6 separate regions of the Homo sapiens genome follow, and all the other regions are linked to region 3. The links are contacts of gene promoters, found by promoter capture Hi-C in human tissues and cell types (Jung and others, 2019). All regions are on one chromosome and are shown on one strand. The core of a region is centred on a gene start or on the middle of the fragment in contact, and the rest is flanking DNA. Distances in the headings are between cores, read along the strand shown.

Region 1 (3,054 bases), core at 201-2,700, 160 kb before region 3:
CAGTAATGAAACTTGACTGAAGTCTGAAGATAAGAACTGCCGCTCTGTGCAGATTTATGTCACAAGGTCATAGAGTATGATGATCCACTGGAAATATTTAAACTAGAGAGGTTAGATTAAATATGTGGGGAAGGCCTGTTCTCTACCACTCATCCCAGCCAGTCATAAGCTTCTGGCTCTTCTCCAACTAACACTCAGCAGTGCCTTATTTGATACCAGTGAGGCAAAAACCCAGCTTTGTTGATACCACATACCTATCATACCCAAGTCAGATAGGACCGAAGGATCAGAGAACTCTCCTGCTGGGCCAGGCCTTGTTCTCTCGATCTGACTTAAAATTGGAATCCAGAAAGGAATAAAACAGATGATAAGACATTACCAAACCGTTAGAACTGGCCCTCAGGATTAAATGTGCCACATGAAAGGGAAGATTTCTCAGGGAGTGCTGTGGTCATTTGCAATGAACACAGTAGCCATTCCAAGCCAAAAAAAAAAAAAAAAGGTGGGGGTAGTGGTGGAGGTAGGCAGGGAATCAAATCTTCAAAAAGAGAAGAATAGAGTGGGTAGAATCACTCTATCCAAATTCAAGACTTGTTCTATATCTAAAGTTATCAAGACTATGTGGTATAGGCTGAGATTCAGGCATAAAGATCAATGGAACAGAATAGAGAACCCAGAAGGAGACCCACAGAGTACGGCCAACTGATTTTTGACAAAGGTGCAAAGGCAGTTCAATGGAGGAAGGATAGTCTTTTCAACAAATGGTGCTGGAGCAATTGGACATCCACAGGCAAAAAATTTAAAAAATAAAATACAAAGTGTATCTCACACTTTGGGAGGCTGAGGTAGGTAGATCGCTTGAGGTCAGGAGCTCCAGATCAGCCTGGCCAACATGGTGAAAATCCTGTCTCTACTAAAAATACAAAAATTAGCCAGAAATCACTTGAACTCAGGAGGTGGAGGTTGCAGTGAGCCCAGATCACGCCACTGTACTCCAGCCTGGGTGACAGAGCAAGATTCTGTCCCAAAAAAAAGCGTATCTCAACGTAAATCTCACAACTTACACAAAAATTAACTCAAAATGGATTGTACATTTAAATGTAAAGTATGAAACTCGTAAGTGGTAAAAAAGGAGAAGAGAAAATCTTCTGTACCTGGTGCTTGGTGAAGAGTTTTCAGATATGACAACCAAAGCATCGGCCAGAGAGAAGAAATCAATCAATTCGATTTCATTCAAAGTAAGAATGTTTGTGCTATAAAGAGCCTTGGTGAGAGGACGTGGGAACAGGCTCTATACTGATAAAAAATATTTGCAAACCACATATCTGATGGGGTTTGCAAATATCTACTATCTAGAGTGTGTGTAGAACTCTCAAAACTCAACAGTAAAAAGAAATCCAATAAGAAAGTGGGCAAAAGACACAAAGACAGGACAGCAAATGAGCACATGAAAGGATATTCGGTATCATTAGCCACCAGGAAAATGAAAATTGGGACCACACTGAGATATAACTGCATACCTATCAGAATCGCTAAAATAAAAAAATAGTGGTAATACCAAAAGCTGCTGGGGTGGATGCAAAAAAACTGGATCTCTTATGCATTGCTGGTGGGAGTGTAGAGTGGGAAAGGTACTCTGGAAGAGCCTGGCAGTAAAAAAAACTTAAATATACATTTACCATACACCCCAGCAACTGTATTCTGGGGTGACTATCCCAGGGAAGTGAAAACTTATGATCATCCAAAAACGTGTACGCACTGTTAATATTTGACTTTGTAGCAGCTAGGAAGTGAAAACAACCAAAATCTCCCTCAAAAGGTGAAAGATTAAACCAACTGTGGTGCATCCATGCCACAGAATACTACTTTACAATAAGGCCAAGCAAACTATTGGTGCACACAATGACTTGGATGGAGATCAGGGGCACTATGAAAGTCACACACTATATACATATTATATGATTCTATGTATATAACTACTTTTTTTTTTTTTTGGAGATGGGAGTCTCACTCTGTCACCCAGGCTGGAGTACAGTGGCATGATCTCAGCTCACTGCAACCTCCCCCTCCAGTGCCTCAGCCTCCCAAGTAGCTGGGGTTACAGACGCCAACTGCCACACCCAGGCTAATTTTCGTATTTTTAGTAGAGACAAGGTTTCACCATATTGGTCAGACTGGTCTCAAACTCTTGACCTCAAGTGATCCACCCGCCTCAGCCTCCCAAAGTGCTGGGATTATAGGCATGAGCCACAGGGCCCAGCCCAATATTCTCAAAATGACGAAATGAGAGAGATGTAAGACAGATTAGTGGATGCCACCATTTGGAGATAGTAGAGGAAAGGATGTTTGCAATTATAAAGGGGTAGAATGAGGGAAATCTTTGTGACATGGGAATCATCCAGTATCTGGACTTCAGCAGTGGTTACACCATATATGAGATAAAATGTCCACGACCTACAAACATATATTGTGCCAATATCAAACTCCTGGTTTTGATATTGTACTGTAATCCTGTAAGATGGAACCACTAGAGAAAACAAAAAAAGGGGGTATATGGGACCGCTCTGTACTATCTTGGCACCTTCCTGTGAATCTACAATTATTTCAAAATTAAAAGTTAATGGTATTTTTAATAATATATATCTCTTCTAAAGATAATCTAACAGTAGCCATCATTTTTACTTTCTATCCAACCCTTTTTGATAGAAACAAGGACCTCGTAACATGAGAAAATATATATTTAAAGACAATGAAACCATGGGGGTTTCCCTTTTCTTGTTTCACCAAAAATGTGCACATGTATCCTATTTATAATGGTAATACCAAGGGGGAGGGATGGAGGAAGATGAGGGCAGATAAAACTTAGCAACTTCTTAGAAAGATATCTCAACAGATCATCAGGCCATGAAAATTAATGCTGTTGTGACAGTAAAAAGAAAAAAAAATAGAAAAGTCACCATGACTTTAAATCTGTAACTTCCTGTCAATCATCCAATAAAATACTGGGAAATAAAACAAAAGTTTATTACCACACATTACCAGGCCTTTGAACAA
Region 2 (2,850 bases), core at 175-2,674, 220 kb before region 3:
TAATAGTTACGATAACCAGCCTGGCTCTTTAAAAATTTTTGTTAAGGCCCTTGAAAGATAAAGAACCATAACTAGCGACCAACTGATGAAATAACTCATGAGGCTCAAGGTATCAAGTCAAGCCACGGCCAAATACAGTACTAAGTCAAGTTTATTCGTATCATGTGCTTCCCATGCCATGAAGTAAGGCCAAGCCACAATCTATGTCCTTTACTCAGATTAAAAGCTAGGAATAATCAAAGAAGAAGAATAAAATGAATTTTTTAGAAGCTAAAGTGTCCATTGGCCAATGCAAATTGCCCTCTTTTAATTTCTGAACAACCACCATAACAGGCACATCTGACACTACCTACTCTACCCTCCAAAGATTATGGGGGAAAATATGTTTGTTTGTCTTTATTTCCATAGTAAATGATGAGAAAAAGGCCAGAGGCACGTATAACTTGGGAAACCTACACATGATGTTCATTTAAGGTGGCTTTTATTTATAAGTCTAATTAGTAGTTGTCGCTTCCTGTTTAGAGAGGGGACTACAGAAAAAGTGTGACTGGGGAGAAGGGATGGTTACTGACAGGCCCAGGGAAGTATAGGAATCCAAGGAAAAGAACAAACAGGAGAGAAGTGGCCCTACTTCCCTAAGCTAAGTGTGTATGTGTCTGTGTATTGGAGGCATGTGTGTAAGGCAGGCTGTTCATTAGTGTATTATCATCATGACCCTACCTATATGTTCAACCCTGCTCAGGTAACTGCTTATGAGTTCTCTATTGTTGTCAATGTGTATCTGTATATAAAGATTTTATACTGTATTTCTAAGAAGATTCTAAGAACATGAGGACCCTCATGCTTTCAATTCGACACAGAATATTTTATATTTCCTATTTTATTTTCTCCTGAACAACATCTGTTTATCAAGTGGGCACTATCATTTGAAGCCAGGTCTACGGCAGCAGAATAGAGCAAGACTGATGCAAAATATAAAGCTAATGTGACACCCCAAAAATCTGCTTTTACCAGAAGCATGCAGCTAATGAAGATCTAAGGATTTGGGAAGGTCTTTAATTAGCCTGAATTATCTAGATAATTACATTGATTTTTGCTAAAGTCAATTCATTCTTAATTGGTGATGCTAATTATATAAATATATCTCTCTTCTACAATGTTCTAGATTTTTCAAACCAAACAGTTTTCGGTTTAATTTTTCTAGATAGGTGCTAAATTGCACGTTTCATTTTACATTTGTATAAACAAATCCCTAGTGTGGACATGACCTTAAAAAGTATGTATATCTCCTGAATTGTCCTCCCCCTAAGAGCATCATTCTAAAAACCAAATACGGCAGAGGTTAATGTGCAGAACCTATACTTAATTCACAAACGTGGCTTGGAAAAATGGTTAGCAGTTGCCTGTTAGAAGCACAGCCACGGAAATTTCTGTAGCATTTCTGCATGTAATTAGCCTCTTTTTTCCCTTAGCTATTTATAAATGCATAAATATACCTGTGCTCTACGTAATGATGACAGACAGTGACAACATATTGATATACAGTGCCACTTCGTACTTGGAAATGAATATTTCATTAGCTGAGTTATCACTGCTGGGTTACGACCTTCAACTCTCTAATTTTAAATTCATCCGTTTTCAGACTATTAAGCTGTTCTTGAGCACACCACAGAAATTACAGACGGAGAGGTAAATTTTCAAGATAATTTTTAATTTCAAAAAAGGTCAAGGATATGCATACTAAATTCTTTAAAAGAATTGTAATTCATAATGAGAGCAAATGGGTCATTTTGGTTGGTAACGATATTTGCTTCTACATGTAAAAATGGAAAGGCAGAAGAAATAGATCATGATCACTTAATGAAATTATCAAGCTCCTAATCTACCAGCGTTATGCATACCCAACTTAAAGAACAACTATGCAGATGATCAGCTAACTAGATCTGGCTTAAGTCTTGTGGAAGCTTAAAGTGAAACACAGATGTCAGCTGCTAACTTACCCTCAACATCCTCAACCACAGTCCGTACTCATTCCAGGAATAAACTCTATGATTCATTTGACTCACTCACACAAACTCTCTCCCCCACCCAATTAGGTTAAAACTATGTCTTTATAGAATCAAAAATATTTACATATTATGGTGTGCATTAAGAAATAAGTATCTGAAAAAAATGAAGGAAGGGAAAATCATTAGTTAAATGACGGCTGCTTCTCGCTCAATCCAACATCACCTAACCCCGTCCCCCAACCCCACTGCCACTCAGCATGTAGCCTTGCCCTTCAGATCAGCTGCTGGGAATAGGATGGCAGGCTCCTGTGAGTGTGGCCCCGCTGACATCACCAATTATTCACCTCCTTCCAAATTCTGCAGCAGTTTCTGGCTCACCCACTGCTCTTAGGTCCACAGTGTAGTTTTCACCATTCCTAGCCTTCTCTATGCAGGTTCCTCTTGGTTTTTCAGCTTCTTTAATATTGGTGTTTCTCAGGGGATATTGCTCTATAATTTTCCTTCAGTCATCTAAGCTAATCCCAAACCTCTGACCCCATCCCATGCTCAGGTTCAAATGCCCAATGGCCAGATGAACTTTTCCAACAGTACATCCAGCTAGCACCTCCAATTAACTCAGTCAATCACTGCACAGATCCCTGTCATGTCTCCACTTTAGAGTCCAAAACTTGGCATGAAGGCTCTCCACGACAAGGCCCCGATATGCAACCCAAGTTCATCTGTCTCCAGTGCCTGCCTTCACATTCCTTCCAGGGCTTAGGACCTCACTGTGGCCCTCCACCCAGCATGAGCTATGCTAGTCCTGGCTTCCACCCCTTGTTCATACTTTCTCTACTGCACC
Region 3 (2,775 bases), core at 130-2,629:
GGAGGACGCCCCCGACCCAGAACGCAGGCTGCTCCCCACACATCCTCAGTCCTCCGCAGCCAGCCTCCGACTTCCATTCCCCGAAACCTAGCCCTCCCAAAGGGATGGAGAACAGCAAAGCAAACCCCCACCTTCTGAGTTCCTTCAATACCCGCCAGAGCGAGGGGGCTCATCCCGGGCCCCCCAAACCCACAGAAGCATCCTTTCCATGGCCTCAGTCTCCCCAACCGCCCCACAACTCGAGTTCTCCCGATCGGCGACGAGTCAGCAAAGCAAGTCCCCCTTTCTCCCGATTCCAGCTCCCCAGGACCCCCAAAAGGGAGCGGGAGCAGACCCCCGCGTCCCCCAGCCCCCTCCCCGGCCAGCCCCTGCCTCCACCTTCCTCGACCACTAGCCTGCCTCCCTAAACATCATCCAAGCCAGCGGAGCAATCCTTTTCTCCTATCCGGGCGCCGGGCCACCCTCCACCCTCTCCAGGGTCTCCCGGACGGGCGCCGGAGCTCCGCGCCCAGGCGACAACTCCGCATCCCCAACGCGCGCCGGCCGGGGCCGCATCCCCTCGGCGGCCGGCACTCACCGGGGAAGCACACGACATAATGGAGCACGGAACTGGTGATTTTCAGGAACAAAATCCACCAACACGGTTCCAGTAACCTCCGCATGTCCGAAAACGCACATCGAAAAGAGGAAAGCAGGGAGGTAAACTTGTTGAATAAGTTCTTGCCTCCGTGCGAGCCTCCGCTAAGCCGGGGCGCTTCCCCGGCTCGCCCGCTCCACGGGCCCCCCGCGCTCGGCGGCCCGAGTCCCCTTGGAATCCGGGAAGCCGCCGAGCGCCCCCCGGAAAATCTCAAAAAGTGACCGGGAACGCAGAGCCACGCTGGGGACGATCCTCTCGGCGGAGAAAGGCTGCTTTCCGTTTAAAAAGGAGAGAGCCGATCGGGCAGGGCGCGGAGTCGGCGGCCGGCGGCGATGCCCCGGGCCTGGGGCAGGCAGGGACCGCGGGCGGCGGCGGCGAGCAGCCGAGGATCCCCAACTTGAGTCGGCAGCGCAGCACAGCCCGAGAGCCGGCGGGCGGCGGCGGGGCTGAGCGCGGCGCGGCGTCTCCGGGCTTCAGGCAGGCAGCTCCTTCCAGGGCCCCGGGAAGGAAGGAGGCATGTTTGCGAGAGGGGAAGGGGAGGGGAGAGGCAGGGGGAGCGGAGAGCCCCCCAAAATAGAAACGGCCGGAGGAAACGGAGGAAAACACAAAGGATCTCAGAGGGGCGCTGGGGCGAGGGCGCCTTCAGTCCATGCTCCTGAAAGTTGTGGCTCCGGCGCAGGCTGGGAAGGAACGAAGAGCGCGGGGCTGGAAACTGGCCATGCCTCCATACAGGAAGTAACATGTGAGCATGGATCCTGGCAGAGACTTTAAAGCCGGCGAGCGAAGGAGCGAGCGAACAGGGGGCGCGCGGTGGCGGCGGGGGCGCGCAGCCCGGGCCAGCTGGCGGCGGGCGCGCGCTCTCCGCGTTCTTAAAGCAGCCGCGCTTGGCTCCCGCCTTGCGCTGGGTCCCTCGGCTCTGCTCTCTCCGCGCGGCCTCTACTGGGACAGTTTGGGGACTGGGGGCGATTGTAGCCCGTGCGCGGAGAGAGGAGGGAGGCTGCCTTCTGGGGCCGGCTTGTTTTTTGCTGGATTCCCGTTGTTCGAGCTCTTAAAAGACGCCGCACGGTGCTCGGGTTTGGCGAGATCCTCCGCGCAGCTCGCGGATCCCGGACTTGAGGGGCCCCTCGCCCTGGCGAGGGGAAAGGGGGAGGGCGGACAGCTGCCTTTTTAAAGCGATGGGGTTTTCTGTTCGGCTTCACTGCCCTGGCATTTGCAGCGGTGAGGCTCACCGTCTGCGGCTCCTGTTCGCGCCTCCAACACAGCGCATTCCCCCGCCGGGAAACAAAGCCGAGCGGCCTTTGCACTCCGGCTACATTGAGATTTAATTTTTTTTTTTTTTCTTTTTCGGGCTTTCATTGGCCCAGTCCAAGGCTGGGGAAAGTGGGGGAGGGGAGGAATGTCGATCCCAGGATTGCGAAATCTAGCCCTTCCGAGCCCCGCATCCCCTTTCCCGGCGCCACGATGGATCGGTGGCGGAGTTTCCCCAACTCGCAGCTTCTCTGGAGAAGGTTCCCGCACCCCGGTTTGGCCGCGGGGAGGGCGCAGGAAGTGCGCCTCTTACACCCTGCAGGGTGAAAGCAGCGCCGCGGGGCCGGACTGATTTCCTGGCAGCTACCCGGGGAGCGGCTGCTTCTTTAGCAATCGGGGAGAGGCGTCCGGGGGAAATGGGAGGACTAGGCTTATCTGTAATGAGTTTTGTCCCTTGGCTCTCGGTAAGAAGATCTTTATCGCTTAGACTTCTAAGCGCCCTATTTTACATTCTTAACGCTGGGGCTAAAAGTGGGGGAGGCGGGCTTTCGAGTAAATGTGTAACTGAGCCAAGGTAATTAGCCGTTTGACATTTTTTGCCTAATTTTTCTGCCTGTGTTTCAAAGCGATCTTGACGTGGGATTGTTTTGTTTTGTTTTGAGACGGAGTCTCGCTCCGTCGCCCAGGCTGGAGTACAGTGGCTCGATTTCGGCTCACTACAACCTTCGCCTCCCGGGTTCGGGCGATTCTCCTGCCTCAGCCTCCCGAGTAGCTGGGACTACAGGCGCCCGCCACCACGCCCGGCTGATTATTTTTTTGGTGGTTTTTTTTGTTTGTTTTTTGTTTTATTTTGGTTTTTTTTGTAGAGGCGGGGTTTCACCGTTTTGGCA
Region 4 (2,938 bases), core at 63-2,562, 130 kb after region 3:
GGACCTGACTCTGAGATGCATAAATGAGAAAAGCCACATAGAGAAATCTTGGTTATTCTGCTCAGAGAAATCTTGGTTATTCTGCTCGCCATGCTCTGGTTTGCATAATGTCCAACTAAATTTCATTTCTACTTTTTGGTGTCTGTGAGGTTGCTGTAGCATTACAACTAACTCTCACCTTCCATTTTCATTTGAGTTACTTTGAGTAGGGTGTGCTGCTGATAATCAAAAGAGCCTTCAGTGTGAGCCAAGAGCTTACGCCTGTAATCCCAGCACTTTGGGAGGTGTAGGTGGGCGGATTCCTTGAGGCCAGGAGTTTGCGACCAGCCTGGCCGACAGGGCGAAACCCCGTCTCTACCAAAAGTACAAAAATTAGCTGGGCGTGGTGTCGCGTGCCTGTAGTTCCAGCTACTCTGGTGGATGAGGCACGAGAATTGCTTGAACCGGGAGGCTCAGGTTGCAGTGAGCTGAGATGGTGCCACTACACTCTAGCATGTGCAACAGTGCAAAACTGTGTGTGTGTGTGTGTGTGTTTTTTTTAAAGAGCTTTGAGAGAACCGTTATAATGCTAGTTCATAAGTCTTTCCAACCTGTCCTTATTTATCACTTTTTTTCTTTCTGACTGTGGACCTACAGATAGCATTTAATTTTCCATCTTAGTAAAGGTGAGTGGTGAAATGTGTAAGCCAAATCACCAGACCACTTACTTCTCTTCTCAAATTTCATACTCCATATGATTTAAAAATAATTAGTAATGTAACCCGAATACTTGTCTATTATTAATTCGACCAACTTGTGAACTGCCCACACATTCCAGGCACTGTACATACTGCTGGGAAAAAGTGGCAAATAAGAGGAGGTCCCCAGCGAGCCCCCAGTGAGCTTACATTCCCATAGGTGGTAGCTTGAGTCACAGTAAGTTACATAAAAGGATTAAAAATGTTGTGGATAGTTCACAAAATGGATACAAGAGATGATATTATTGTACTTTATCAGGCACATGATGATGTTATTTCTCTTGTGAATGATGCTGTGATGAAAATGGCTGCCTGGAGCCGATTGTTTCCCCAGGGTCTGAAGAGTAAATTACGGTAAAAATGAGCAAAAGTAATTCACCTACAACAAGCAGAGAGACTTAATTGAAGGCAATAAACTCCCAGAATGGTGGCCCCAGGGGAAAAAAAGAAAATCCAAAAGCAAAAAAATCTCTCCAAGTTTCTAAATTAATTGCAAAGATCCAGGGCGAGGGTTACCCCTAACTCTGACTCCACAGAAACTGACTGGAGAGTCCACAGAACCCCGAGATTTTTTCACAGACACCCCAACCTGGAGACGCAGGCATACCAAGAGGTCTCATTGTCTTTGTTCTCCTTACCAAAGCGCATTTGAAATGGTGCTGGGAAAGCGGTGAACTGGAAGTAATGGATCCCGCTGCCTCTCTGAGGAAGAGAAAAATCCCATGACCGGATTTGAGGAAACAAACGGAAGTCTAAGTGCACCCACTTCCGGAGTGGGCACCGCTCCTCAGGTAATTTAACCACGGCTCAGGGAGTCTAATGACAGCCCTGCATGGCTTCCGCTAGCCTCTGTGGGAAAACGGAGGTTTGGACAGTCTTCCCCTGGCACATTTGGGCCATAGCCTTGAAGGGAAAGATTTGAAAGCTATAAGGTGGGAGAAAACATAAAATAAAAACAAACCTCACACCAACTCTAGGACTATGGAAAAATGGCAGAGTTTCCACCAAGAGAAACATGAATACCAAGTGAGAACGTGAGCAGAAGCTTACCTGTCAATGCCAACTGTGTGCCCATCCCTCCTGGGCCACCTCATTACAGATCAGGTTATGCCATGCCTCTGTCTTGGGAGAAAATGGTAAGAGCAGTAGGCTAGCAGTCAGCCGAACTAACTGTCCTCCCAGCTAGCTGACCTCGTTTGTGAAATAGGGCACACGAATGCAATCATGATCCTAAGCTCCCTTAAGCTCTAAAAAAATAATATAGTGTAGTGATTCTGTCTAAAAAACGCTGACAAAGAATGCATCTACTTCCTAGTAAATTCTACAGCTGGAAGGAAGTTTCTAGAGGCACCTCAGCACTGACTTCAGTACCCATCACTCCACAACTCAAGGATGGAAACCTTGAACGTCTGAATTTGCTGAACTGCTTGAGATGAGGTGAGAGAAAAGGACTTTTTTTTTTTTTTGACACGGAGTCTTGCTCTGTGGCTCAGGCTGGAGTGCAGTGGCCCGATCTTAGCTCACTGCAACCTATGCCTCCCGGGTTCAAGCGATTCTCCTGCCTCAGCCCCGCAAGGACCTGGGATTACAGGCACCCACCCACCAGGCCCAGCTAATTTTTGTATTTTTAGTAGAGATGGTGTTTCACCATGTTGGCCAGGCTGGTTTCGAACTCCTGACCTCAAGTGATCCACCCACCTCAGCCTCCCAAAGTGCTGAGATTACAGGTGTGAGCCACCGTGCCCGGCCGCAAAGGGCTTTTAATAAATGATGCTCCTTAGTCTTTGGTATGTTACTCAAATAACCACCAGTGAATGGAATTACAATCTTTGGGCAGTTTAGCAAGATTCTTTATAGCAAGCTTGGCTCCTACCAGCGGACTATTACTCTAAAAACACTCTGGGAGCAATTACACACTCAGTAACCCCTCATTAAGTAGCAATTTTACCTAACCTTACCCGTTTCCTTTTGAGTGTGAGAGTGAAGGGAGAAATGAATTAAAGCACATCAAGAAGCTCTGTATGCTCTTGGCTTGGACGGTATGGTGAGCAGCAGGGGGGCATAATATATGCAGTAGCGCCATGCAGAAGTTGGGGGAGGAGAGATTTTGGTTAACACTTCCCACTCTCCCACCGCCCACACTTCAAATCAGTCCGAATTCCCGTGCTGTCAGAGAAAAGGGGAGGTGTGCGAGGGAAATA
Region 5 (2,700 bases), core at 77-2,576, 140 kb before region 3:
CCATCAGATTACCAAGAAAAGGTGAAGTTTCACTGATACAATCCTATGCCCCCCACTTTACAAATGAGCGAGGCAGGAGAAACTAAGTGGCCTTCCCAAGGCCATACAGCCAGTTAGCACCAAGGGAGCATGAAAAGATACAGCATCAACTCCCCCAGCCCTGTGGAATGCCTTAGAAATACCATTTTTGGTTTCCAAATCTGGATCACTCCACCATTAATGCCCATACTACGAAATAAAGCCAAAAGAGAAAAAATGTCAGCCTAGTTGACACAGCTACTCTCTCAAAACCAATCTTATGAAATTTGACATTACTGTAACTGATTTCTTTACAACCCTTTCGGCTAAATCAATACTGATAAGATGCATTCTTCTGATGTCCTTTATCTATTTTCCAGAAAGGCATCAGTCGGAAAATGATAGGCAGTTTAATGGTGTGGCACCTATATAAGTGGGGCAAACACAAGCTGCTAAGAACCATCTTAAAGTGCCAGTCCACTGAACTTTCATACAGGGGGAAAAAAAAAAAAAAGATTCAACTTCCTTACCTGGGGAGAAATACAGGCTTTAAAATTACAGGCAGCAGCAGAGGGTAGTGGTAACGAGCCAAGGCTCTGCCTATAGAGAATCAAGGTTCAAATGCAAATTCTGCACCCACCGTATGAATTACATTTAACCTTATCCCTTATGGTAGGCACCAGAGGGAACTGCATACAAATGTGCACCAACAGGCATTTACAAGATTGCTCTTTACAGCTTTACTCATGAAAGCCTAAAACTAGAAAGAACTCAAAAGGTCTAACAAGAAGAAAACTGGCAAACTGTTGTATAGTTGTATAATCAATAACTAAAGAGTAAGTACCGCACAACATCACGTGTGAATTTCATAGACATTATGTTGAGCAAAAGCAGACAGACCCAAAAGAGTTCCCTAAGTTATGTGGGCAAATCTATCTGTATGGTGAGTGGAAATACAATAGTGGTTACCTGGTGGGGGGTTGGGAAAAATGACAGATGTGCCTGGAATGCTAGAAAGTATTCCATCTTGATCTGCAAGGCAGCCACTCAGGTGAAAGCAGTAACACACCTATAGAAACACACTGAGCCACATACTTCAGATTTGTACAATTTACTGTGCCTGTGTGTGTGTGTACACGTGTGTATAAACGTTTTAACTCAAACTAAATTTTTTTAATTGTTTAATGAAAAGTTTTGTAAAAATGTAACTCTCCCTAAGAGGGACTTACAGTCAGTTACTTTATTTCCTGGGCCTCAAAATCCTCTTCTCTAAAATGAAGAAAGTAACAGTTCCTATTCTCAGCATGTTAGGGTCAATATTTTAAAAGGTAAGGATGGGTAAAGTCTTAGCAGGATGCATCAAAGCACACAGGCTACTATTCATGGCCAGACGCGGTGGCTCACGCCTGTAATCCCAGCACTTTGGGAGGCCGAGGTGGGTAGATCACTTGAGGCCAGCAGTTCAAGAACAGCCTGGCCAACATGGCAAAACCCTGTCTCTCCTAAAAATACAAACATTATCCAGGTGTGGTGGTGCTCGCCTATACTCCTAGCTACCCCAGAGGCTGAGGCAGGAGAATCACTTGAACCCAGAAGGCTGAGGTTGCAGTGAGCCGAGATCGCGCCACTGCACTCCAGCCTGGGCAACAGAGTGAGACCCTGTCTCAAAAAATAAAGAAAAGAAAGCACACAGGCTACTTTTTTCCTTTTTTCTTTCCTTCCTTCCTCCTTCCTCCCTCTCCTTCCTCTTTCTCTTCCCTCTCTCTCTCTTTTTTAGACAGGGCTTGGCTCTGTCACCCAGGCTGAGTACAGTGGCACTCCCTTCAGTCTCGACCTCCTGGGGGCTCAACTGATCCTCCCACCTCAGCTTCCTGAGTAGCTCAGATGACAGTCACGTGACACGACACCTGGATAATTTTTTTATTTTTAGTAGAGGTGAGGTTTCGCCATGTTGCCAGGCTGGTCCTGAACTCTTGGGCTCAAGGGATCCACCCACCTTGGCCTCCCAAACTACTGGGATCACAGGTGTGAGCCACTGTGCCCAGCCTTCAATTATTTCTATCACCATCATTATTATAACAATTGTTAGAAATGTTTCTGCACTCACTTCTTTTCATTATTATACTGTAGAAAAATTAGTCACTAAATATGGGTTTTTTCCTCTTCTGCCTTTATGCAAAAAGTTTTCAAATATTACTATTATAATCATATGAAAGTAGAGATGAAACATAAATAAGAAAATGTGACCCGAGCCTCCTCAAACTCATAGCTACCAGAGATCTGAAAATTAAACAGCACTAGCCCAGCAGCATCCTGTGCCTTGCATCCAACATGATATTGAGGAGTTGTCAGATACCTTGTTAGCAGTGGGTGCAAATGTGAGAAGTATCACACAGCTATTCTGCATGTTCTGACAAGACCATGAGGAAACACAGTCCCCAAAGAATCAGAGAGCTCAGCATGCAACCTAATTAATCACCACAGGAAAAAGCCCATATGGTGTGATGGTGGACTACTCCGTGAAAACACAAGAAGAAATATGCAGCTAGCCTTAAACAGAACAAAGGGGCAAGCAAGGAGGGCAGGGAGATTGAGGGCAACTATTAAAGCTCCCACTGCATAGGTTTCCAGAAAACCAGGAGTCTTTCCCTCCTAGACTGTCTTCACTTCCTTGCTAGTTGC
Region 6 (2,757 bases), core at 23-2,522, 210 kb before region 3:
CTCATCTTTCAGACTGAAATTTCCCTGTGACCACACCTCACAACAGCAGCACAGCCCTCATAAAGCTGTGGGGAAATCATTATGATAGTAGACACTGAGCCAACTCAGGAGAATCAACCTTTCTCCTCCCCCATACCCCTCTTCCCTGGGCAAACACACCCTCCCCCACACAACTATTTTCCTCTTTCCCTCACTTTCTAATCGGACGTCTAAGTGCACAGTGAAGGACAAGTTTCCAATTCTATTAAGAGTGGACTATTAAAGGATCTGAGAAGTCTTGCAGCAAAGAAACCTGTATGACAATCTTTACTTTGGCCTTTCCCAATCTTCCATGGTCACAGAACCCTCCTGCCATAAAAAGCCTGTGAACAGCCTCCTCAACTAATGTTCCAGACACAGATTTTGAGAAAATGCTCTCCGAGCAACAACCCATACTTAGCTACTTGCCGGGGACTTCCTACACAGACTCAGTACTGAGGCTGGCAAAGAGAGACTCCAACAATTCTGTACTGATGACATTCTTTTTGTGCAGAGAAACTCTACTCCCAGAGGCTAACACAGAGAAACCAGGAAAATTATTTAAATCTCTAGGTAGCTAACAGTTAAATGGCTATAAAAGTCTCCCAATGTCTGAAATTAATTCCTGTAGTAAATATCCCTACCAAAAAAAAGACATACATCATACCTGTGAGTTACAGAGATATAAGTTCACGATTAGTTGTGATAAATGGTGGGTCTAGTGGCTTTTTGATGAATAACTCTCTGTCTTGATCAAATTCAAAGACCATAAACATGGATTCTAGTAACTGCATTTATGACTAGTATTTTACAGACAAAAATCTAAAATCAATTAATATATCTCTAATTATTATATTTCCTATCCTCCCAATGCATAAATCTATTCTGTTCCGTAGTGAGAGATCAAAATTAAATACCAAGATTTTTTTTTTTTTTTTTTTTTTGAGACAGGGTCTTGCTTTCTGTCACCCAGGCTGGAGTGCACTGGTGCAATCACAGCTCACTGTAGCCTCAACCTCCCAGGCTCAAGCAATCCTCCTATGTAAGCCTCCACAGTAGTTGGAACTACAGGCGTGTGCCACCATATCCAGCTATTTTTTTTTTCCTTTGGTACAAACGGGATCCCACTATGTTGCTTAGGCTGGTCTTGAACTCCTGGGCTCAAGCGATCCTCCCACCTCGGCTTCCCAAAGTGCTGAGATTATAGGCATGAGCCATTATGCCCAGCCAAATATAAAACATTCATCTTAACTTGCATTTAAAGCATTCTATAGTCCACCAAAGTGTCTTGGAACACTGAAAATGTATATATTTTCTACCTTTTATATTCTAGCTTTCCCTAATTTATTAAAACAACTTAAGACATCTAAATGCCAACCAATTAATATGAAAGAATATTTTAAACACATTTAATATCCTGTAAAACATATTCTGCCAAGGGCAGCGCTCAGCTGAGGTTACCAGTGGACAAATTATTTAAATGAGCATGTATGCATTTTGGATTTGTCTACATGGGGAAAATTAGAAAAAACTATTTACTACAAGGAAATCATCATGTACTAGAATAAGCAAAAACAAAATGAGAGTAAAAGAAAATGGTATGCCTTTTTTAACATAAAAAATTAGTTAAAAAAATGGAGTTTGATAATTCTACTTTCTTTTTTTTTTTTTTTTTGAGATGGAATCTTGCTGTCACAAGGCTAGAGTGCAGTGGTGCAATCTCGGCTCACTGCAACCTCTGTCTCTCAGGTTCAAGGAATTCTCCTGCCTCAGCCTCTCAAGTAGCTGGGACTACAGGCGTGCACCACCACGCCCAGCTAATTGTTGTATTTTTAGTAGAGATGGGGTTTCACCATGTTGGCCGGGATGGTCTCGAACTCCTGACCTCAAGTCATCTGCCTGCCTCGGCCTCCCAAAGTGCTGGTATTACAGGCCTGAGCCAGTGCTCCTGTCCTAATTCTACTTTCTAAGTAACATGTTTAATAATCAATGGCTGGGCTGGGCGCGATGGCTCATGCCTGTAATCCCAGCACTTTGGGAGGCCAAGGTGTGCAGATCATTTGAGATCAGGAGTTTGAGACCAGCCTGGCCAACATGGTGAAAAACCATCTCTACTAAAAATACAATAAACATTAGCTGGGTATGGTGGCAAATGCCTGCAATCCCAGCTACTAGGGAGGCTGAGACAGGAGAATTGCTTAAACTCAGGAGATGGAGGTTGCAGTGACCAGAGATTATGACACCACACTCCAATCTGGGCAACAGGGTGAGACTGTCTTAAACGAAAAAAAAAAAAAATTTTTTTTAACATTAATAATGGTGTTAAATAATACATGTGTGATACGAACAAAGTTTCCTTTCTATAATGCAGTCTACTAAAGAGAGCTGAAATTCCAGATCTACTCCTTTAATATATAGATAGAAATCTGGAAAATGTGATTATCAATTAGAGATGTTAGAATCAAAATCTAAGAAAGAAAACTTAACAAGAAAAAATTATCTCCAAAAATAAAGTCTCTTGTCAACAGCAGTGACTGAAGAAACTCTTTTGGAATTAGTCTGGGATGTGAGAAAGAATCCAGGGTAGGAAAAAGATGTTAAAATAATGCCAACATTTCTTTGGGGAGAAAAGTGGTTTTCACATGACCTTCTCCAATTTGAGCTCGAAACTGTATAGGAATGAAGGAAGATGGAATAACATTCACAGCTCACAATTTAAATGGATATATCAATACTTTT

What was found. The method cuts DNA at HindIII sites, captures the fragments that hold promoters and counts their contacts. A contact is called where the count stands out against the background at its distance.
Region 1: a fragment that was not itself captured here is called in contact with the fragment with the promoter of PTPRG in region 3 in 1 of the 25 tissues and cell types used here (aorta).
Region 2: a fragment that was not itself captured here is called in contact with the fragment with the promoter of PTPRG in region 3 in 1 of the 25 tissues and cell types used here (IMR-90 fibroblasts).
Region 4: a contact is called between a fragment that was not itself captured here and the fragment with the promoter of PTPRG in region 3, in 1 of the 25 tissues and cell types used here (adrenal gland).
Region 5: a fragment that was not itself captured here is called in contact with the fragment with the promoter of PTPRG in region 3 in 1 of the 25 tissues and cell types used here (H1 embryonic stem cells).
Region 6: a fragment that was not itself captured here is called in contact with the fragment with the promoter of PTPRG in region 3 in 4 of the 25 tissues and cell types used here (IMR-90 fibroblasts, aorta, dorsolateral prefrontal cortex and 1 more).

What each region holds. Positions count from the first base shown.
Region 1 is chr3:61,723,158-61,726,211 of GRCh38, reverse strand. The region is part of intron 1 of PTPRG (protein tyrosine phosphatase receptor type G); the gene reads right to left. Among named protein-coding and RNA genes, the nearest start is that of PTPRG, 160 kb to the right of the region's middle. The HindIII fragment of the contact is 4,384 bases long and covers 1-3,054 here.
Region 2 is chr3:61,783,675-61,786,524 of GRCh38, reverse strand. All of the region lies in intron 2 of PTPRG (protein tyrosine phosphatase receptor type G), which reads right to left. Among named protein-coding and RNA genes, the nearest start is that of PTPRG, 220 kb to the right of the region's middle. The HindIII fragment of the contact is 5,540 bases long and covers 1-2,850 here.
Region 3 is chr3:61,560,175-61,562,949 of GRCh38, reverse strand. PTPRG (protein tyrosine phosphatase receptor type G) reads right to left here and starts at 1,379. Exons shown (of 30, transcript NM_002841.4): 1 at 578-1,379. The coding sequence starts at 662. RefSeq lists an enhancer at 2,602-2,775. The HindIII fragment of the contact is 9,021 bases long and covers 1-2,775 here.
Region 4 is chr3:61,427,750-61,430,687 of GRCh38, reverse strand. It overlaps LOC105377114 (a long non-coding RNA gene), which reads left to right and starts at 1,973. Exons shown (of 7, transcript XR_940892.3): 1 at 1,973-2,174. The HindIII fragment of the contact is 4,121 bases long and covers 1-2,938 here.
Region 5 is chr3:61,700,981-61,703,680 of GRCh38, reverse strand. The region is part of intron 1 of PTPRG (protein tyrosine phosphatase receptor type G); the gene reads right to left. Among named protein-coding and RNA genes, the nearest start is that of PTPRG, 140 kb to the right of the region's middle. RefSeq lists an enhancer at 1,622-2,516. The HindIII fragment of the contact is 6,733 bases long and covers 1-2,700 here.
Region 6 is chr3:61,766,177-61,768,933 of GRCh38, reverse strand. The region is part of intron 2 of PTPRG (protein tyrosine phosphatase receptor type G); the gene reads right to left. Among named protein-coding and RNA genes, the nearest start is that of PTPRG, 210 kb to the right of the region's middle. The HindIII fragment of the contact is 5,933 bases long and covers 1-2,757 here.